Regions from separate parts of the Homo sapiens genome. Here regions 1 and 2 are each linked to region 3. Evidence: promoter capture Hi-C in 16 types of primary human blood cells and fetal thymus (Javierre and others, 2016). All regions are on one chromosome and are shown on one strand. The core of a region is centred on a gene start or on the middle of the fragment in contact, and the rest is flanking DNA. Distances in the headings are between cores, read along the strand shown.

Region 1 (3,677 bases), core at 200-2,699, 3.8 Mb after region 3:
TTGGGGTTGAAGGGAACTCGGACAGACCACATGGGGTTCGCGGACCCGGGGTGCTCTGAGACCGCCTTCGGCTGGGTGGGCCATTTGCAGCTGTTTGGAGACCGGTCGTCTTTATCCCCTATATGCTAGGCCTGCGTCTCAGGTGACCGTGACTCCTGAAGCTTTTCAGCGCAGGTGTAGCCGGCTTGGCGTCGCCGCAGTGAGGTTTGGAGCCGCTTTGGATTGCTGAGTCACTTTCTTCAGCCACTTAGGGAAACCGAAAGTGGAAACTCGTGGGGCTTGAAATAGTGTGTTCTCTTGAGAACCACCGAGGCAGTGAGATTTGGGATTCCGGGGTCTGGAGATCGTGCTTTTTGTGGACTGCGTTTGCAGTTCCTAGGGTGCTGCTGATTCACAGGCCTTCTCTGTCTTTAAGTGTGCAGATCATTGACCGCTCAGTTTAAGAGTCACTGGAAATCCTGTCGGAACAGAACTAATAAAAATGGTCTGAAAAACAATCTGATGAATCCTTCAGTTTTTCCTTTCTCGTTTTTCCTATACAAATTACCTAACAGCGCTTGTAGGCATTTATTCCGTAAACGTTTAAATGGTTACTTAGGAACTTAACAGCTTCAGACTTTTCATAGACTGTTGAGGATTTTGCAGTGGGACTTGTTAACTTGTTTGGCTTTCCTTTGTTAAACGTATTGCATATGTGCAGTCAGTTTACTCCTTTTATGTACTTCTCTATATAGAAAATACAGTTTCTAAAAGATTTATTGGTTATTTGCACTAGAGTTATTGAATAATGAGTTTCTCAGTTCCTCAATTTCTACTTCTTAACAAGATTCTCATGCTCAGCCTTAAGTTCAAGTACCGGTGTTCTAAATTTGATAATAGGCAACTTATGTCTGGAATGGTTTAATCCATTCAGTTATGAATGCTAAAGTTCTGCCATACTTTTCTTGGATAAGTAAATGCTCAATATTAAATCTTGTAGCAAACTGACTTTGCAATTATATTAATATTACCTTGAATTAATAGTATTTCATTCTACAAACCTTTTAAAGAATACTTGATAATGTAACCATGTGGGATATTTTAGTAACAATGGTAGGGTTAATGATCTGGGTTTAACAGATCAGGAAACAGACTCAGAAAGTACCACTGCTGAAGGCTTTTCTTCTGTCTTCATTTCTCCCAAGAACTCCAGATACGAATATTTGTTTGTCTGCTTGACATGTCTGTTCACTTGATCGTTTAATAGTCATTTCGTACTGCATGTGAAAGTAGAGCTCTGGGTTTTCTCCTCACCTTGCCATTTTGCATCTACTACAGTCTTCAGCTCAGTGAATGGTCATATGAAAAAATCTGTTATTCATCTTTAATTCCTTTTTTTACTTTACTCCCAGAACCAACGCTTTAGCAAGTTTATTTTTTTATTTTTATTTTGTTTGAGACGGAGTCTTGCTCTGTTGCCAGGCTGGAGTGCAGTGGCACGATCTTGGCTCACTGCAACCTGTGCCTCCCAGGTTCAAGCAATTCTCCTGTCTCAGCCTCCCGAAGAGCTGGGACTACAGGTGCGCACCACCACGCCCAGCTAATTTTTGTATTTTTCGTAGAGATGAGGTTTCACCATGTTGGCCAGGATGGTCTCCATCTCTTGACCTTGTGATCAGCCCGCCTCACCCTCCCAAAGTGCTGGGATTACAGGCATGAGCCATCACGCCTGGCCTAGCAAGTTTATTTTTATTATTTTTATATTTTACTCTACTCTCAAAAAATATTCCCTTCTACCTCTTCTCTCGTCTAAGCTACTACCGCTATCTTTGGAACACCTTATCTTTGCTTCTGTTGTTCTCTCTACAGCTTATTTTCCGCATAAAGCCAGAATGATGTTTTTAAAAATATAGATGATACCACTCCCCCTGCTTAAATTTCTCATTGCATTTAGAATAAAATACAGAGTCCTTTTTCCATCCTGGAAGACACAACATAATCTGGCCCTCAGCTACCTCACTAACACAGTTTACTCTTCTTTCTGCTGCTTACAGTGCTTGGGACACAGTGACCTTATTTCTGTTTCTTGACTGTGCTAGCCTTATTTCTACCCTAAGATCTTTGTGCCAAATGTCAAGAAGACTTTTCCTTCATATCTTAAATGGCTAGCTCCTTGTCATTTAGGTTTGACTCAGCCTAAATATAACTGCCCAGAAGGCCTTCCCTGATGATGTAGTCTGTAGTAGTTCATTGCTTTACTCTTTTATTTTCATCTTAGTGCCTTTTCTGATTTACTGCTGTACCTCTAGCACCTAGATTCATGTCTGATGTGAAACTGAAGGACTTAATGAATGAGTATACCTTTGTATTCCGTATAGTAACATAATAGATACTCATTAACTGCTTGGTGAATGCCGAATGATTTGTTTGAAGTCTTTTAGTTTGTTAATGGCAGAGTTATCGTTACAAATTTAAATGTTCGAACTCCAGTGCTGGTTCTACTGCCCCATATTAATCTTTTTCAAAAATGAGTTTTGTAGTCTGGGTGAAAAGTGTTCTGACTTCACCTGGGACCTGTATCCATTACTCTTCAATAGCTGAAATCGAAGGTATATAGCTTTATCTTAGCTACTGTTGCTGCTCTGACAAGTTTCCCTTTCCTCTCTTGAAAGCAAGGTCTTTGTTGGGATATAACAGGTTCCTGATGTTTCAGCCATTTAGAGGGGAAGAAACTGTATGGTCATTACTGCCAAAGATACAAGCTTACTGTTGCCCTTTTCTCCTTAAGTATGACCTGTCAGCCTCTACATTCTCTCCTGACGGAAGAGTTTTTCAAGTTGAATATGCTATGAAGGCTGTGGAAAATAGTAGGTAAGAAACATTTAACCAGGTATTACATGTCTCCTTTTATTTTATATATTTTTGGCGATTAGGCTTTGTTATGTTACTTTGGTACAAATTAGTATATGTCCCCAAATCTCAATTTATTCATTTCCAGATCTCTTTCTAGGCCAGATGCTTTCCATGAGCCCCAGTCCTATATTTCTCGTTGATTCCAGGATTATCCACTTAGATTTTCCATGTTGCAGAGTGTATAAATCACATTCATTATCATCTTTTTGTTTTCCATTTTCAAATTCTTGATTTGTATCATAGGCTTCCTCAGCCATTAGGTTTGTGACCTTGTTATTTTTTATTTCTCATACATCTTGTGTTTTAAATGTCTTATGCAATTAGTCACATGTTCGATTCAGCAAAGATTTTTTCTATGTCTGTTTCTGTTTTGAGACCTGAGTCTCACTCTGTCACCTAGGCTAGAGTGCAGTGGCACGATCTTGGCTCACTGCAACCTCCGCCTCCTGGGTTCAAGTGATTCTCTTGCCTCAGCCTCCCCAGTAGCTGGGATTACAGGCATGTGCCACCATGCCCGGATAATTTTTGCATTTTTAGTAGAGACGGGGTTTTGCCACGTTGGCCAGGCTGGTCTCAAACCCCTGGCCTCAAGTGATCCGCTCACCTCGGACTCCCAGAGAGTAGCCCCAGTCCTATATTTCTCGTTGATTACAAAGAGCTGGGATTATAGGCGTGAGTCACTGTGGCCAGCCTAAATACGATTTTAAAAAGTCAGATTTATGCAAATATGAGGAAATATCTTTAAAAAATTGAAACCTTAAAAACGAATGTGTTTTTTCCTGAAT
Region 2 (3,405 bases), core at 119-2,618, 3.2 Mb before region 3:
GTGCGCTTGCGCTGAGCAGCCCGCGAGGGCGGAAGTGGGAGCTGCGACCGCGCTCCCTGTGAGGTGGGCAAGCGGCGAAATGGCGCCCTCCGGGAGTCTTGCAGTTCCCCTGGCAGTCCTGGTGCTGTTGCTTTGGGGTGCTCCCTGGACGCACGGGCGGCGGAGCAACGTTCGCGTCATCACGGACGAGAACTGGAGAGAACTGCTGGAAGGAGACTGGATGATAGAATTGTGAGTGCGGGGCGGCCAGGGTCCTACGTCCGTGCCTGGACACACGACTTCACCCCGCACGTTCCTCGTGCGGGTCGCAGGCTCCCCAGGACTGCGCCTCCGAGTTGCGGAGCGAGCGTCCCCGACTTCTGCAGCTCCCCAAACTCTTGGGATCTGCCGCCAGCTTGGTCCCACCCCCTCGTCTCTTACCCGTGAATGTTAAGTTTCTTCTGGGGTGCACCCTCGTTTCGTTTCTTGGGTTGTGGTGCGCCCAAAGGGTTAGTGCCAATGCGAATTCTGACATTTTTCATGACTTTGAGGATGCGACTGGGGCGCGGGGAGGGAGGTGTCCGACTCGTGTCTAAGTAGTTAAAGTGATTCTTCACAGACTTCTACACTTATTTTCACCACATTTTACATAAGAGAATATTGAGCAAAATTTCTCCTCTCGTTTTGTCTGTCCTTAAAAGATAGTCTCTTTATGGTGTTGGAATTTGGCGCTTTTAAGCTTTTTTTAATGGATTGGGTACGTTTCTTTTTTATTGTAAATACTGAGTCAATTCAAGTTGGGTTATTTTTAAGTTTTCGTTTTCTCTTTTTGCCTCCTCTTTTGCTTTCTCTTTTTTTCACTCCTCATCTCATTTTTCCTTTGGGTGTCTTTGTAGTGTAGAGAATACCTTGGGTTGTGACTCCTAGGTCTTTGTAAATGGTATTACATTAAAAGATAATGTATTAATGTATACACTCTCAAGAGCGCCAGGTCATCATTTATTGCTCGAACGAAATCATGTATTTTGTGTGGTGATTTCAATTTAATAATATCTGTTCTGCCGCGGTGGGAAATAAAGTATCTGTCTTTGCTTTAGATGCTAAGTCGTTGTTGATGGTGGTATTATACATATTAGCAGTATTTACTGATAATAGTAAAAGCATAATTATTAACAGTGTACTGGACACCACTAAGCACCTTTACACGAATACCATATTTAATTCCCTACAAATTCTCTATGACAGGTGTTTTTCACGTTTTACAAATGAGTAACAAGATACCTAAATACTTTAGTTAACCTATGCAGATATTGCTGTGCTGGCTTTCTTTGGGTCTTCAGAGTAGGCATACAATAATTGTTGTTAGAACACCTTCTTCTTTAAAAAGGTTCAGCTGGAAGTGGCGTACGCTACCCAGGAGATTGAGGTATGAGGATGACTTGAGCCCAGGGGTTCAAGAGATCCTGGGCAACTAGCAAAATAAATAAGTAAATAAATAAAAATGAAAAGACAACAGGGTTCAGGTGAGTGTTTTCTTGTGTCACGAATACAGCAAGGGTTGTCAAGTTAAGGAGGCCAGTGAAAGTGACATCCCCAAGGGAGAACCCAGAAGGCTAAATCAGTAAGTCCTGTGTTATTTTTTAAAAAAACAAAACTGGCCGGCGCGGTGGCTCACGCCTGTAATCCCAGCACTTTGGGAGGCCGAGGCCGGTGGATCACGAGGTGAGGAGATCGAGACCATCCTGGCTAACACGGTGAAACGCCGTTTGTACTAAAAATACAAAAAATTACCTGGGCGTGGTGGCACGCGCCTGTAGTCCCAGCTACTCGGGAGGCTGAGGCAGAAGAATCGCTTGAATCTGGGAGTCAGAGGTTGCAGTGAGCCGAGGTCGCACCACTGCACTCCAGCCTGGGCGACAGAGTGAGACTCAATCTCAAAAAAAAAGTAGAACATTTATATGGAGGGTAAGATAAAGGGAAATTTTCATAGTATGCATGTAGTCTGCAATTCTGAAATGAATTTTCATTCAGGCACCATTGAAAGCTTCAGGGGAGAGGAACTGTGACACTTTTTCAGTCATCATCATGAGTAACTTGTTTTAGATCGTGCCTGTAAAATAGTGTTATAAGCAATATATTAAGCAATAGTGATCGTGTGTGTATATGCAAAATACAGTCAAGTATTACTCAAGGATATTTTTTAACTCATTATGGTCCAACTATATAAATACAGCAATCAGAAGTAGTATTAAGGAGAACAAGACTAACAAAACATTGAGTATGAGGTAAATCCACATTGGAGCATCTATCTGAAATTATGCTATAGAGTAGTAGTTTTTCTTTTTCCTTAAGTAGAGATTCTAAAGTAAGTTTTTAGAAAGCAACTGACAGCCTGGGCAACATGGCAAAAACCAGTCTCTACAAAAAAATACGAAAAATTAGCTGGGCGTGTGGGCAGGCATCTGTAGTCCCAGCTACTTGGGCTGAGGTGGGAGGATGTCTTGAGCCCGGGAGGTTGAGGTTGCAGTGAGCCCAGATGGCGCCACTGCCCTCCAGCCTGGGTAACAAAGCGAGACCCTGTTTCAAAAAATAAAAAAGCAACTGAGCAACAAAACGAACCTGAAAAAGAAGGACTCTAGTAGTTTTAGTAATAGTCTGCTCCTAATTACAAGTGAATTATCTACAGTAAATCCATTTCTGCTCAGAAGTTTTGTCATGGAGATATTTTCATTGTAATACGATTTATTGTTAGGAGCTTGGCTTTTATACTACCAGTTTGTCTTGTTCTACAATGTCTATTTTAGGAGTTTGGTTTTCATAAAACAAGTGAAGAAAATGTGAAGTACAGAAAGTATAGTTTTGTGTTTAACTGCTTTAGGCTTTATTCTTCCTGGTTCTGTTAAAAAAAAAAAAAAAAAAAGAACAACCCTGTGGTGTATTATAAGATAAAATACAATAAAGTGGAAAAATAAGATCCTCAGGAGATAATACCAGAGGAGTAATTTAAATGCTAATATGCTTGCATTTGTAAATCCAAGGTCTTGGAAACAGGATGACCTAACTGGCCAAGAGTTTTGTTTGGCCTGCTTAGTATTTGTGTGTGGGTTATTTTTTGAGGTAACATTCTCATATAAAAATGCAGCTCTCCATCTTCTTTTAAATATGAATAGCCAGCCTTAGTGTGCCAGCATCCTTAGTGGCAATCCTACTTAATAATGGTTGCCACTTTAAGATGGAATATGTGCTTTCTTATTCACCACAGCCCAGGACACTTCTGTTTTTCCAACACCTTGCATTTGTGACTCTGCATTATAAATTATTAAAATTGGTAAGCTCTAACTTTGGTCTTGAGCTTTCTGGTGGCCACACCGTTAATAGAGAAATGCAAAAGTTTTCTAAAGAGCTGTTTTGCATGTGAAAAAATCC
Region 3 (3,389 bases), core at 57-2,556:
GTAAACATAATCACACTGCTTAGCAAAAAGGAATGGATTTGTGATATGCTTCCACTTTCGAGACTTTTTTGCACAAGACGCTGCTGCTGTTTAATCATTCTGCCCCTCCGTATGTTTCATAGAAATCCTTGTTACTGGCATGATGAAACCTGACTTAAAATCTACGTAAGAGTGAACGCGGTCATTCAAATTAAAAGCAACATTCCAGAAGGCACTGGAATATGGGGAAAAGAGAAGCAAGTATGAGATAAATTTTTAATGAATGATTTCCAGAAGGCTCTCAAGGCTTTTAATTTTGTGCTAAAGCAACAGAAATTCTTATCTCTGTAGAACTATGTCACAGGGAACTTACGACTTTTTCCTTAGAGGGACCAGTAAGGCTGTGCTTCCACCCTGCAATAGTGATGATGATGTGTGTAACAGAAATAAATACTGCCCCAGAAAAGCTTAAGGTTTCTGAGCATCTCAAAATCAAATGAAAACTCCCTCTACTAAATCAAGCAATCCTGAATATAAGGGTGGCTTGGAAAGCTGCCTGTTGAAACTCCAGCGGTCAAAGTATGATTTGGGGGGGAAACGCGCACATGCAATCAACAAAGTAATCAATTGAACTTGCATCAAAGTTCACCAGGAAACAACAATCTGGAAAAAGAGAAAAAAAGTGATTTGATTTGAAGAGCACCGAACAAGTGCTGAAAAGTAGAGTTGGAAATTCACCCTAAGTAGGTTACATTTTGGCCACAGTTCTGTGGAAACCCTAAAAGAAAGTCAATCTGTATTAACAAAAATTCGGAAAACTTCATTCACACTACGGCCGTCCCACCGCGCTGTCGACATCCTCCCCGGGAATGCAGGGCCGCGGGCCGGCAGAGGTCGGTGCGAACGCAGCGCGGAACCGCGGGCGCCCGCCTGGACCGCGGCCGCCCCATCCAGTAGGGGAGGAGTAGCGGTGCGCGCGGCCTGTGCCGAGGCAACGCGGGCGCGTCCACCTGGCGACTGCGCGCCCCGGCTCCTCCAGTACCCGCGGCCCCCAGACCCCTCGCCGCGCGGCCCGTGCCAGCCGGGCCGCATCCCCGACGCGCAAAGCCCCGGCGGCCGTGGCGGCCCGGACCGCGGGCCCGGGGCGAAAAGAGGCTGTGTTGCCGCCTCGCCCTCCTTTCCCCAGCCCCAGCTACTCACGTGCCAAATGGCGAAGAAGATGAGCGCGGCAGTGAGCAGCAGCGCCAGCATGTAGCAGAAGGCCGCGAACGTGAACGCCATGGCTGGGGAGGAGGAGCGGGGAGCGGCGCCGTTGCCAGCGGAGAAAGGCGGCGCAGGGCCCTCTGGGTAAAACCATTCACTTCCCCCGGCCACAGCCGCGACCGCCACCGCTACCGCCGCGGCGCCAGCCCTCTCAGCGCGCCTGCGCACCAGCCCAGCCGCCCCGGCGCCCTCTGATGGCCGGAGTCTGCGTTGCACTGACATTGTCCGCACAGTTGTTGATTGATTTTTCCTTCCTTCTTGCGTTTATTCTTTCAACAAATATTTATTGAATGAATGCCTAGTTTGTTACAGGTACCGCGCTTCTCGCTTCAGATACAAAGATGAATAAGATAGTACCTGCACTGAAAGAACTTAGTATAGTGCCGGAAATGAACACCTAAATAAATAATTACGTTATTATAACCCCGTAAACGGATGTGTGTGGGATGCTCTGAAAGGTCAAAGAAGGACAGCCAGCCCGCCCTGGAGCATTTAGGCAGGATTCCTGCTGTAGGTGTTTCCTAAGTTGGCCTTAGATGATGATAAGTTCTCCAGGCAAAAAGAAGGTAGAACTGGCAGTCCAAGGAAACAGTTCAGAATGAGGAAACGCAACAGAGATGGAAAAAAGAAAAGAAAAATAAAGCTTCGTGTCTCAGGTGAAACCAGCAGCAATTCTGTATTAATGGAACCTAAGTGCAAGACAGTGGTGAGACTTAGAAATGAATTAGCAAGGGATCAGATCATAGAGGGCCTTATAATGCTTCATTACGGAGCTCAGACTTCTTATCCCATAAGCCCAAATTTTTTGCTCACCACACACAACTAGAAAGATTTTTTTCATTGCAACCCAGTGGAATATCATACAGACATCAAGTTATGAAGAGGTGGAAATCTAGTTATAGAGGCAAAGAAATATAGATATGACCAAAACAAAAATTTCACAAAACTGTACTAATGATCCATAAGTACTTTCCCTTCTCTCTTTTGCTACTTGTTTTTAATGCTGGTCTTAACACACAAAATTGATTCAAAATTGATTTAACTTTCCATTACAACCATTTTTAAAAGAAAAAAACTCTATTAACTGATTGCTGCTGATGGAAGAGAAAATCATTGAAGGCTTTTGAGCAAAAGAAGACCATGTTTAGATTTGCATTAAAGATCGTTCACCTAGCAAATTGCGTAGAATAGTTTAGAAGCAGGGTCTGTCCAGTGCTGTGCAATAGAACCTTCTGTGATGGTGAAAATTTTCGATACCTAAACATTGCCCAATACAGTAGCCACTAGCCACATGTGGCCATTGGGCACTTGTAAATTGTCTAGCATGACTGAGGAACTGAACTTTAAATTTCACATCACTTTAAGTAAAATGTGGCTAGTGTATTGGACAGTACAACCTGTACCACCAGGATTATGTGGCACCTGTGTGCAAATTATCAAGTTACTTTTGGCCAGGCACAGCAGCTCATGCCTGTAATCCTAACACTTTGGGAGGCCAAGACAGGAGGATCACTTGAGCTCAGGAATTCAAGACCAGCCTGGACAAGGTAATGAGATCTTGAGAGGTGACAGCGTGCTGGCAGTCCTCACAGCCCTCCCTCACTCTCGGCGCCTCCTCTGCCTGGGCTGCCACTTTGGCGGCACTTGAGGAGCCCTTCAGCCCACCGCTGCACTATGGGAGCCCCTTTCTGGGCTGGCCAAGGCCAGAGCCAGCTCCCTCAGCTTGCAGGGAGGTGTAGAGGAAGAGGCGCGAGGGGTAACCGGGACTGCGCAGGGTGCTTGCGGGCCAGCTGGAGTTCCGGGTTGGCGTGGGATTGGCGGGACCCTCACTCGGAGCAGCCGGCCGCCCCTGCCGGCCCCGGGTGATGAGGGGCTTAGCACCCGGGCCAGTGGCTGCAGAGGGTGTACTGGGTCCCCCAGCAGTGCCAGCCCACCGGCGCTGCACTCGATTTCTCACCGGGCCTTAGCTGCCTTCCCGCGGGGCAGGGCTCGGGACCTGCAGCCCGCCATGCCTGAGCCTCCCACCCCCTCCATGGGCTCCTGTGCAGCCCAAGCCTCCCCAGCGAGCGCCACCCCCTGCTCCATGGCGCCCAGTCCCATCGACCACCCAAGGGCTGAGGAGTGCGGGTGCACGGCGCGGGACTGGC

What was found. The method cuts DNA at HindIII sites, captures the fragments that hold promoters and counts their contacts. A CHiCAGO score of 5 or more calls a contact.
Region 1: a contact is called between a fragment that was not itself captured here and the fragment with the promoter of CNIH1 in region 3, in 1 of 17 cell types (fetal thymus). The highest score is 5.4, in fetal thymus.
Region 2: a fragment that was not itself captured here is called in contact with the fragment with the promoter of CNIH1 in region 3 in 1 of 17 cell types (fetal thymus); the score reaches 6.5 in fetal thymus.

What each region holds. Positions count from the first base shown.
Region 1 is chr14:58,244,983-58,248,659 of GRCh38, forward strand. It overlaps PSMA3 (proteasome 20S subunit alpha 3), which reads left to right. Exons shown (of 11, transcript NM_002788.4): 2 at 2,768-2,850. Among named protein-coding and RNA genes, the nearest start is that of PSMA3, 2.0 kb to the left of the region's middle. RefSeq lists enhancers at 1-770, 1-334. The HindIII fragment of the contact is 2,580 bases long and covers 160-2,739 here.
Region 2 is chr14:51,240,214-51,243,618 of GRCh38, forward strand. TMX1 (thioredoxin related transmembrane protein 1) reads left to right here and starts at 34. Exons shown (of 8, transcript NM_030755.5): 1 at 34-231. The coding sequence starts at 80. RefSeq lists a silencer at 1-212 and an enhancer at 73-312. The HindIII fragment of the contact is 1,305 bases long and covers 717-2,021 here.
Region 3 is chr14:54,440,068-54,443,456 of GRCh38, forward strand. It overlaps CNIH1 (cornichon family member 1), which reads right to left and starts at 1,307. Exons shown (of 5, transcript NM_005776.3): 1 at 1,180-1,307. The coding sequence starts at 1,260. RefSeq lists silencers at 781-830, 841-1,200, 1,241-1,510 and enhancers at 916-1,714, 1,591-1,650. The HindIII fragment of the contact is 1,439 bases long and covers 445-1,883 here.